Linked DNA regions of Homo sapiens: all the other regions are linked to region 2. The links are contacts of gene promoters, found by promoter capture Hi-C in human tissues and cell types (Jung and others, 2019). All regions are on one chromosome and are shown on one strand. Each heading gives the region's core, a stretch centred on a gene start or on the middle of the fragment in contact. The rest is flanking DNA. Distances are from core to core; before and after follow the strand shown.

Region 1 (3,486 bases), core at 388-2,887, 330 kb after region 2:
CCCAGGCTGGTCTCCAACTCCTAGGCTCAAGTGATCTGCCTCGGCCCCCCAAAGTGTTGGGATTATAGGCGTGAGCCACTGCACCCAGCTAATTTTCTATTACGTCTTTTTTTTTTTTTTTGACCATCTTAATAATACTTAATAAGGTATACATGCGCCACGGTGGTTTGCTGCACTTATCAACCCATCATCTAGGTTTTAAACCCCACATGCATTAGATATTTGTCCTAATGCTCTCCCTCCCCTTGTCTCCCCCCCCCCCACCCCCCTGATAGGCCCTGGTGTGTGATGTTCCCCTCCCTGTGTCCTCATTGTTTACCTCCCACTTATGAGTGAGAACATGCAATTTTCTATTATTTCATGGCTTGCTCAGTTATACAGGGTCCCCTTTTTTCTCTGATCACATATGGGTTATCTTCAGATGATTTAGAACAAGAATCCAGGGCTGGGCATGGTAGCTCACGCCTATAATCCCAGCACTTTGGGAGGCCACGATGAGCAGATCCCTTGAGGTCAGAAGTTCACGACCAGCCTGGCCAACATGGTGAAATCCCATCTCTACTAAAAATACAAAAATTAGCCAGGCATGGTGGCATGTGTCTGTAATTCCAGCTACTTGGGAGGCTGAAGAATGAGAATTGCTTGAACCTGGGAGGCAGAGGTTGCAGTTAGCCAAGATCATGCCACTGCAGTCCAGCCTGGGTGTGGAGTGAGACTCTGTCTCAACAACAACAAAACACCCAAGAATCCAGAAGGTATTCCCTGATTGTGTATATGAGAGAAGCCTGTAAAACACATCCCTTTGAGAAGGCTCAGTGCAGACCCCACCCTCACTGCAGGCTTCTCTGCAGGTTCCAACCTGCCCTACAGGTTTGCCTACCTGAACTAATTCCAAGAGGCAGGTCAAGCTGCAGTAAGCCCTGACTATAGCAGGTGGCTGCTCTGAGCCAAGGAGCAACCAAGTACCCTACAAGCTCCAGCCCCTCCAATACCTCCCATGCCCCCCAGGGGTGGCATCTGCCTCTGGGACCCCCATTTGAGCTCCAGTGGCCAATTGGCTGGAAGTTCAGCTCCAAGGCCTCCTGCTTTTGCTCCCAACCATCCCCCTGGTGCGGGCCAGCCTGAGACAGATTCCTCCCTGTATCCTCCCAGGCTGGCCCTCCAGGTATGGTCCTTGGGGTCCCCTTGAAAAGAAAAAAAACCCCTTCCCTCATCACAGTACTCACTCGGAAGCGTGCGACTATTGCTGAGGCTGCCGGTACTGGGCGGTGGGGAGAGGGACTGCAGGGAGACACTGTCCTCCTCCTGCGAGCAGCCTGCCTGGATGGCACGCAGGTAGCTGTGGCTGCGGGAGCGGAAGTAGCTGGGCAGTGGCAAGTCAAGCGTCTCTGCCGCTGTGGACTCCGCTTCACTGCAGGCTGACTCGCAGGCCGCCTCATACTGGTCACTCAGCTCTGCCTCCCGTACCTGTCCAGGCAAAGGCAGGCATGAGGGAGCTGGCTATCTTGCCCATCCTGGGGGGAGCGGTTCTTGGTGGTGGGCTCAGGGCAGGGCTGGACAGTCTGTGGGGTCTGACCTCAGCCCACCCCTGTCCATCTCACTCAGCGTATGGGATGGGGAGATGGAGCCCTTAAGAAAGAAACAGTCCTACCTCTCTGGGCCTCAATTTTCCCATCTCTATAATGAGGACAAAGTTGGAATATCTCAGGATATTAACTGTGATAAAAATCAGGGTCCACACTGATTAATAGATTTCAAGGTCACATCTGAATTTAGTGTGAAAGAGGTCTATAATCAATTAGCAATGTCTGTCCTGAATGTTGGAATGGGGGTGGCGGTAGGTAGCTGGATATTTACCATCCTATGGTCCAATCCCTTTATTTTACAAGGAAAGAAACCAAGGGTCAGTGAGGGGAAGACACTTGCCATGGGTACCCAGTGAGGAAGTGGCAGAACCAACACTCCAAATATGTATTTAAGGAAGATTAATCTAGCCCTCTTATACAGAATGGATGTTGGGAAAGGGGTCTGGAATGGAGGCAGAGGCCAGAGACGAAGCTGAAGCAAAAAACTGGAGTGAGGGTAGTTGCAGTGAGGATTGATTAATGATGTCTGCCATGGACAGTATGGAAAATGGTGATGTGTATGCTATCTGCTATCTTGCATCTAGTTCAACTTTGTGTAGATGGGTCCTAAGTATTTCTCCAGAAATGACTGTCTAGGACCCTGAAAATCTGAAGCCAAGGGTATGAGCATTGAGGGGCCTCACCATGCACATACTCTTTGAGGGTTCTGGAAGGGCTATCTGACCCATGTCTCAGGCCATGTTGGTAACTGAAGACCACAGAGGATAAGCTGGGGGGTCAGTTGGCCAAAGATGTGGACATCTTGGGGGCTGGCCTGGGCCACAGCGGGAGGGGGCACAAGCTGACTGACCATGTGGAGGAAAAGGTTGATCTGGGCCTGGGGCCAGCTGTGTCCCACCCAGCTGTGTAACCTCAGGCCATCACTATCTTCTCTGGGTCAGTTTCTCCTCATCTACATGAAATAGGTGCTCGCATTCTCATCTGAGACTGCATCAGGTCAAACAACTAGATGGGTGTTCACCCAATTTGGAGGGTGGATGGAAAGGTCTAAATCTGTGCTTTTTTAATTTTTTTGAGATGGAATCTCGCTTTGTCTCCCAGGCTGAAGTGCAGTGGCGCGATCTCGGCTCACTGCAACCTCCGCCTCCCGGGTTCAAGCAATTCTTCTGCCTCAGCCTCCTGAGTAGCTGGGACTATAGGCAGGTGCCACCATGCCCGGCTAATTTTTGTATTTTTAGTAGAGACGGGGTTTCACCATATTGGCTAGGCTGGTCTCAAACTCCTGACCTCGTGATCTGCCCGCCTCGGCCTCCCAAAGTGCTGGGATTACAGGCATGAGCCACTGCGCCTGGCCAAATCTGTGCATTTCAGTATGGCAGCCATGAGCCATGTATGGCTATTTGGGTTTAAATTAATTAAAATTCAGCCTGGGCAACATAGTGGGACCCCAGCTCTACAAAAGAAATTAAAAATACAAAAATTAGCCAGGAGTGGTAGCATGCACCTCAAGTCCCAGTAACTTGAGCCCAGGAGTTGGAGGCTGCAGTGAACTATGATTGTGACACTGCACTCCAGCCTGGGGGACAAAGCAAGATCCTGTCTCTAAAAAAATTAAAAAATAATAATAATAATTGATTAGTCCAGGCGTGGTGGCTCATGCCTGTAATCCCAGCACTTTGGGACGCCAAGGTGGGTAGATCACTTGAGGTCAGGAGTTCAAGACCAGCCTGGCCAACATGGAGAAATCCTGTCTCTACTAAAATCCCAAAATTGGCCGAGCGTGGTGGCACATGCCTGTGGTGCCAGCTACTTGGGAGGCTGAAGCAGGAGAATCACTTGAACCCTGGAGGAGGAGGTTGCAGTGAGCCAAGACTGGGCAACTGCACTCCAACCTGGGTGA
Region 2 (3,473 bases), core at 690-3,189:
AGACAGGGTTTTGCTATGTTGGCCAGGCTGGTCTCAAACTCCTGACCTCAACTGATCCGCAGGCCTCAGCCTCCCAAACTGCTGGGATTAGAGGCGTGAGCCACCACACCCAGCCTAATGACACAGTGCCTTATAGGGGAAAAAAATGTGTGCCTCCTGTGGACAGGAGGGAGCCATGCAACAATTCAAAGCAGGGAAACGATGTAGAAGATGTATTGGGTCTGTATTCCATGAAATCATTTTCTCATTGTGCCCCAGGATGGCCAGCCCTAGCTGGGAAGGAACACTGAGTTCTCTTCCTGGCACGTTGACAGAGAGGAGTTTAAGAGGCAGGCAAGCATAAAAGGAACTGGGTACCTCTCAACCCCAGAAAGTGATATTCAGGGAGCCAAGGGCAAATCTCTGCTTTCAGAATGGCTGCTGCAGCCAGCAGGCTGGAACCACAGGGTGGAAATTTCAGGAAGGCAGATTTTTGTCTCCCACCAGAAAACTTTTCCAAGGACCACAACTGCTATGGAAGGATGACCACGGTCAGCTCCAGCTGCCTCTCTCCAACCCCTCTTTTGGACTGTGGGCTGCTTATAATTCAATATTTGGAAGTTTTTCTGTGAAAGAAAGGACTGTGCACATCCAAGGGGACATTTTGGTGGCGTCGTGCTGGGTGCTGAGGAAGCAGCCCGCTCTCTGGAGCCTCCTAGACCAGCATGGGATAGTGGAGCAGGAACAGATTGGGCTCCTGGGAGCACAGAAAGGACAGTTGGTTTTCAGCCTAAGGCCAGAGAGAATGCTTGGAGAGAAATCAATCATTCCTTAGCTGAGGCTTAAAATTCGAGGATGTGGCCGGGCGCAGTGGCTCATGCCTGTAATCCCAGCTCTTTGGGAGGCCGAAGTGGGTGGATCACTTGAGGTCAGGAGTTCGCGACCAGCCTGGCCAACATTTTTAGTGGCCGTCTCTACTAAAAATACAAAAATTAGCCAGGCGTGGTGGTGGGCGCCTGTAATCCCAGCTACTCGGGAGGCTGAGGCAGGAGAATCGCTTGAACCCGAACCCGGGAGGCGGAGGTTGCCGGGAGCCGAGATCGCGCCACTGCACTCTAGCCTGGGCGACAGAGCGAGACTCCGTCTCAAAATACAAAAAAATTGGAGGATGTAGCTAGGAAAAGCAGGGAAAGCCTTCCCAGGCAGAGGGAACAGCGCCTGGGAATATAGCGCCTCAAAGGGCATCTGATGCCCTGTCCCCGTCCTACCCCTAAGGACCAGCCCGACCTGCCGCACCCCCCGACCCCGACTAAGGACACTGCGACCACTTGGGGGCGCTGCGACCTCCTCCCGGGTGAAATGAAACCCGAGGGCAGGCCCCCACCCACCAAGCAAGTAAAGCAAGCCGTTTGAGGGAGTGGCCTGGAAATGAGAGAGAAAAAGTCCTAGAGCAGGAGTGGGATAGACTGTGAGGCAAACTGAGCTCAGAGCTCCAGTCCACCCTGGGGAGAGTCACGGTCCACATTTTGGGAGTTAAGGAGATAAAGGGAGTGGGAACCAGAGCCTAGCGACGGGGACAGGGCATCAGATGCCCTTTGAGGCGCTGTATTCCTCCGGCAAGAATCTCTCCGGGCCTCTGTTTCCCCCATCTTAGATGGGCTCTGGGGCCGTCGGGCGCAAAAGGACACGATAGTGTGGCGGGTCCCGGAAAGGGACTCCCGGGCGGGGTGTTGCGGGGAGGTGGTGACGTGGCCAGACAGGACCTAAAGGACTTGGACTAGAGGAGCGGAGCTGGCAGGAGCGTTGGACGGCGGTGTACGCATGCGCGTCGGGCGGCGGTGTACGCATGTGCATCGCCGGAGGCAGGCGTTCTGCGCGCGCGTGCCCGAGAAACTGACGGCCGCGCATGCGCCCTTGGTTGGCGGGAGTTTCGGAGGCGGTGACCGTGACGTAGAAGGTGGAGACCGCTTCACCCTGATCAGGGAGTATCGGCTGCGGGTGCGCAAGGCGTCCAGGAGTGACCTGGGGCTGTGGAGAGCGACCCGTGGCCTTGTGTTTCAGGTACGGAGGTTCCGGACTGGACGGGCGTCAGGAAGTCACAGACTTGTCCTCTGATGTGGCCCCGCCCGCCGCCGCACTAATCTCTTCGGCGTCGTACCCGTCGGCCCAGCTCGACCCGCCGCAGCCCCGGCCCCGACCGTGGACACTGGGGGTCCCCGAGGGCGCTGCGACCTCCTCCCGGGTGAAATGAAACCCGAGGGCAGTCCCCCTTACCGACCCCATTAGAGACGTATCTGCCGTGCCAGGGGTCTAGGCTCCAGAAACAGGGGTGAGGACTGGGTAGAGGGCTGGGGTTCGAATTGCCCCTGTGCCCCCAGGCTGGCTGTGTCACAAGCTTGGGCCAGGCTTTTTGCCCCTCTGAACCTCAGTTCCCCTGTCTGCAAAGTGGAGTTAATGGTGCTTACGGAGTTGTGGAAGGGATTAAGTGGAATAACGATGCAAGTAAAGCGCTTACATAGCACAGGTCCTAGCACAGAATAAGCGTTTAACAGTTGACAGTTGTTGCTTTTCTAAGCCTGGATCTGTGTGATACAGTCGTTATTATCCAAGCCTGGATTTGTGTGATATTGTCATAAGGACCGTGGGGGATTCAGATCCTTGACCGAGCCCTCCTTGTTATCTTTTCCTTTTTGTCCCTCTGCATATATTCATATCTTTTTACTTAGCACCCCCCACAGACAGATTTCTGCTGGGAGGGAGGGGACGATGAAGAGATGCCTAGGTGACATCCCTGCCTTCCAGGCAGTTGTTCCTGACAGTCACTAGGAATACAAATACAGCCTGGCTGGGGAGACAGACATGTAAACAGATTTTATAGCCAATGCTACGAAGGCCAAGGGGCATAACCACCAACTCTGCCAAAGATAAGTGATGTGAAAGCTTCATATTTGAGCCAGGTTGGGAAGGATGAATAAGTTTAACAGGTAGAAGGACAGATATGTGCAAAGATTCAGAAGTAGTACAGGGAATAGGACTGGGAGGAGAGAGCAGGAATGGGTAAATTGGGACTAGTTTACCTGAGGTGTTGACTACACTTTGGAAAAGTCCCGGCAACTGTCTGAAGAATAGACTGGGCCGGGTGTGGTGGCTCAGGCCTGTAATCCCAGCACTTTGGGAGGCTGAGGCCGGGCGGATCACCTGAGGTCAAGAGTTCGAGACCAGCCTGGCCAATATGGGGAAACCCCATCGCTACTAAAAATACAAAAATTAGCCAGGTGTGGTGGCAGGCACCTGTAATCCCAGCTACTCAGGAAGCTGAGGCAGGAGAATTGCTTGAACCTGGGAGGTGAAAGTTGCAGTGAGCCGAGACTGCGCCACTGCACTCCAGCCTTGGCGACAGAGTGAGATTCCACCTCAAAAAAAAACAAAAACAAAGAATAGACTGGAGACGGGCCGTTGGAGGTAGAAAAACTAGTGGAGAGACTATTAAGATA
Region 3 (3,533 bases), core at 1,010-3,509, 390 kb before region 2:
GGATAGCAGGAGAGAAATTTAGGGGATGGTGGAACTGTTCGTATCCTGATTGTGGTGATGGTTACACATGTGTATGTGTGTGTTATAACACATGGAACCACATGCTTCCTGCCGAAATCAGTTTTACTGTATGATACATTTTTAAAAATCATGTTGTCACTTTGTACCGCATAAATATATACAACCATAATTTGTCAATTTACCAAAACACACACAAAACACACACATACACATACACACAAAACCACACAGAGCCTCCACTGGAAGGAGGATGAGGGAAACTTCAGGAATGCTAGTAATAATCTGTTGCTGGCTACAGGGTGTTTTTTGGTTTGTGAAAATCCACCAAACTGTACATTTTCTTTATGTAGAATACCAATGAAAAATAAAAATAAAACATTTAAAGCCAACATGTTGGCCTTCACTTTTGACTTCAGCTAATCCTTATACTTCATATCAGCATGGTTTTCTTTCGATTTCTTTGTAGTTAATGAAGGGCTTGGATTGCTGCCATGAATTGAAACAAAAAAGCCCATTACCTGCCTTGAGCTGATTCCACAGTCAGTCAGGGAAATAGATTAATAAGAAGGTCATTATGTCAGAGTATCGCAAGTGCTGTGATAGCAATTTATTCATGTGGTTTGTAGATACACTTAGAAAGGACACTGGACCAGCCAGGCGCAGTGGCTCACACCTGTAATCCCAGCACTTTGGTAGGCCAAGGTGGGCAGATCACGAGGTCAGGAGTTCAACACCAGCCTGGCTAACATGGTGAAACCCCCATCTCTACTAAAGATACAAAAAATTAGCCGGGCATGGTGGCAGGTGCCTGTAATCCCAGCTACTTGGGAGGCTGAGACAGGAGAATAGCTTGAACCTGGGAGGCGGAGGTTGCAGTGAGCCAAGATCATGCCATTGCACTCCAGCCTGGGCAACAGGGTGAGACTCTGTCTCAAAAGAAAAAAAAGAAAGGACACTGGACCCTGCTTCAGGAGCAAACGCATTCTCCAAGTCTTAAGATATATAGAGATTTTTTTTTTCTTTTTTGAGACAGAGTCTTGCTCTGTCACCCAAGCTATAGTTCAGTGGCGCGATTTTGGCTCATTGCAACCTCCGTCTCCCAGGTTCAAGCACACCTATAGTCCCAACTACTCAGGAGGCTGAAGTACAAGGATCCCATGAGCCCAGGAGATGTAGACTGCAGTGAGTGGTGATCACGCCACTGCACTCCAGCCTGGATGACAGAGCAAGACCCTGTCTTAAAAAAAAAAAAAAGGTTCTATGATAAATAGGAATTTTATATATATATGTATGTATGTATAATTAGAAAAGAGGCCGGGTGCAGTGGCTCACGCCTGTAATCCCAGCATTTTGGGAGGCCAAGGCAGGCAGATCATCTGAGGTCAGGAGTTCGAGACCAGCCTGGCCAAGATGATAAAACCCCATCTCTACTAAAAATACAAAAATTAGCTTGGTGTGGTGGTGCATGCCTGTAGTCCCAGCTACTTGGGAGGCTGTGGCAGGAGAATCACTTGAACCCAGGTGTACCACTGCAGTCCAGCCTGGGTGACAGAGCGAGACTCCATCTCAAAAAAAAAAAAAAAAAAAGAAAAAGAAAAAGAGAGGCCAGGCATGGTGGTTCTCACCTGTCATCCCGTCATCCCAGCACTTTGGGAAGCCAAGGCAGGTGGATCACTTGAGCTCAGGAGTTTGAGACCAGCCTGGGCAACATAATACAAATAATTAGCTGGACGTGGTGGTGCGTGCCTGTGGTCCCAGCTAGTTGGGAGGCTGAGGCGGGAGGATTGCTTGAGCCCAGGAGGTTGAGGTTGCAGTGAGCTGAGATCGTGCCACTGCACTCCAGCCTGGGTGACAGAGCGAGACTCCATGTCAAAAAAATAATAATAATAATAGTAATAATAAAATAAAAAAGAAAAAGAGAATGTTAGTACTGAGAGATTTTATTCTTCCAATCAGAACTTGGATTTTAATAGGAAATTTTAAAAGCAAAATAATGAATTTTTAATGACATTGAAAGAACTAGAAGTAACAGAATCAGAGAGGTCACCTTTAGGAAGCTTTTTTTTTTTTGAGATGGGATCTCACTCTGTCACCCAGGCTGGAGTGCAGCGGCACCATCTCAGCTCACTGCAACCTCCGCTTCCCAGGTTCAAGTGATTCTCGTGCCTCAGCCTCCCAAGTAGCTGGGACTACAGGCACAGGCACGCGCCACCACGCCTGGCTACTTTTTTGTATTTTTAGTAGAGACAGGGTTTCACCATGTTGGCCATGCTGGTCTGGAACTCCTGACCTCAGGTGATCTGTCCACCTCGGCCTCCTAAAGTGCTGGGATTACAGGCATGAGCCACCATGCCCAGCCTAGGAAGCTTAATCAGGCAACACTACACAGGACAGGCAGGTAGAAAAGCAAAGACTAAGAGTGGGGAAAGCCAGGATGGAACATGGAGCTGAGAGGAGAGCCGAGGTCTCAAAGCAAGGCAGGGCCAGCGGACAAGGAATTTCACTGAAATCTTCCGTAATTTACTCATTCTTTGTAATAAAAGACTGATATTGGGTTGAAAGAGATGTCAGATATTTAAAGCATTCCAAGAAACTTTTCAAAAACTCTCCACAGTTATTCAAATAAGATTATGACATATAATTGTATTTTTATCATTTTCCCACAAATTCAGGGTGAACTTGAAAAGCTGAAATTCCTAGGAGATCTGTCTTCTCTCAGCCAAGCTTTACCTTATGATGAAACCGCAAAATCATTCATTCACAGCCACATAGCAGACATTGTGCATACCTTAAATGTAAGTATTATGACCTTATCACAAATGATTGGGATCACACAAATTCAGTGACTTGGCCAAAGCATTTTTTAGTGGCTTCACCTATGTTATCAATTCACTTGAACTCTTCTAGTATCAGTATCTCCACATGGAGGAGAAATACTCATGGCCACCCCACACATGTAATCACCCTTGAAAACCAATTAAAAGAAGAGTAGAAAGGACAGGAACAGCATTTGAATTTCTCAGCAAGGCCAACGCTACATTCTCATGACTCAAGCAGTAGTTCCCAGACAGTCCCCATAATCGTATGCCTAGGTTCAGGGGACAGCCCTGCCTTTTTATAGCTGTGAAACTGTAGGAAATTACTTCACTTCTCAATGCCTCAGTTTCCTCCCCTATAAAACAAGAATAGCTATATCTACTTCACAGAGCTATTGTGACCATTAAATTCAAAATAAATATAAGCCATGTCCATGGTACCTAATACACACGAGCCACTTGAGAAACATGACTATATTATTGTTATCGTATTTTGTTCTATTTGTACTTACTCCAGCCACACTCTGCCACCAACTCATCCATTCATTCCCTCATTAAGTGCCTGACAGTTCCAGGAACTGTCTTGGGAATTTGGGCTACAAAGACAAAGAAGACAAAATCCCTATTTATGCAGCCAAGCAAGGTATAATAAAATGTCACAGGAACTGTGACAAGTTTAAATAGGCATATGGGGGG

What was found. The method cuts DNA at HindIII sites, captures the fragments that hold promoters and counts their contacts. A contact is called where the count stands out against the background at its distance.
Region 1: a fragment that was not itself captured here is called in contact with the fragment with the promoter of DSN1 in region 2 in 1 of the 25 tissues and cell types used here (spleen).
Region 3: a contact is called between a fragment that was not itself captured here and the fragment with the promoter of DSN1 in region 2, in 1 of the 25 tissues and cell types used here (dorsolateral prefrontal cortex).

The regions. Positions count from the first base shown.
Region 1 is chr20:36,444,678-36,448,163 of GRCh38, reverse strand. It overlaps DLGAP4 (DLG associated protein 4), which reads right to left. Exons shown (of 13, transcript NM_001365621.2): 7 at 1,227-1,467. Among named protein-coding and RNA genes, the nearest start is that of MYL9, 95 kb to the left of the region's middle. The HindIII fragment of the contact is 6,823 bases long and covers 1-3,486 here.
Region 2 is chr20:36,772,229-36,775,701 of GRCh38, reverse strand. DSN1 (DSN1 component of MIS12 kinetochore complex) reads left to right here and starts at 1,939. Exons shown (of 11, transcript NM_001145315.2): 1 at 1,939-2,040. LOC124904894 (a long non-coding RNA gene) reads right to left here and starts at 567. Exons shown (of 2, transcript XR_007067574.1): 1 at 484-567. RefSeq lists enhancers at 1,088-1,634, 1,594-1,673, 1,684-1,823, 1,954-2,013, 1,635-2,180. The HindIII fragment of the contact is 22,977 bases long and covers 1-2,647 here.
Region 3 is chr20:37,167,404-37,170,936 of GRCh38, reverse strand. It overlaps MROH8 (maestro heat like repeat family member 8), which reads left to right. Exons shown (of 25, transcript NM_152503.8): 5 at 2,694-2,816. Among named protein-coding and RNA genes, the nearest start is that of RPN2, 10 kb to the left of the region's middle. The HindIII fragment of the contact is 4,728 bases long and covers 1-3,533 here.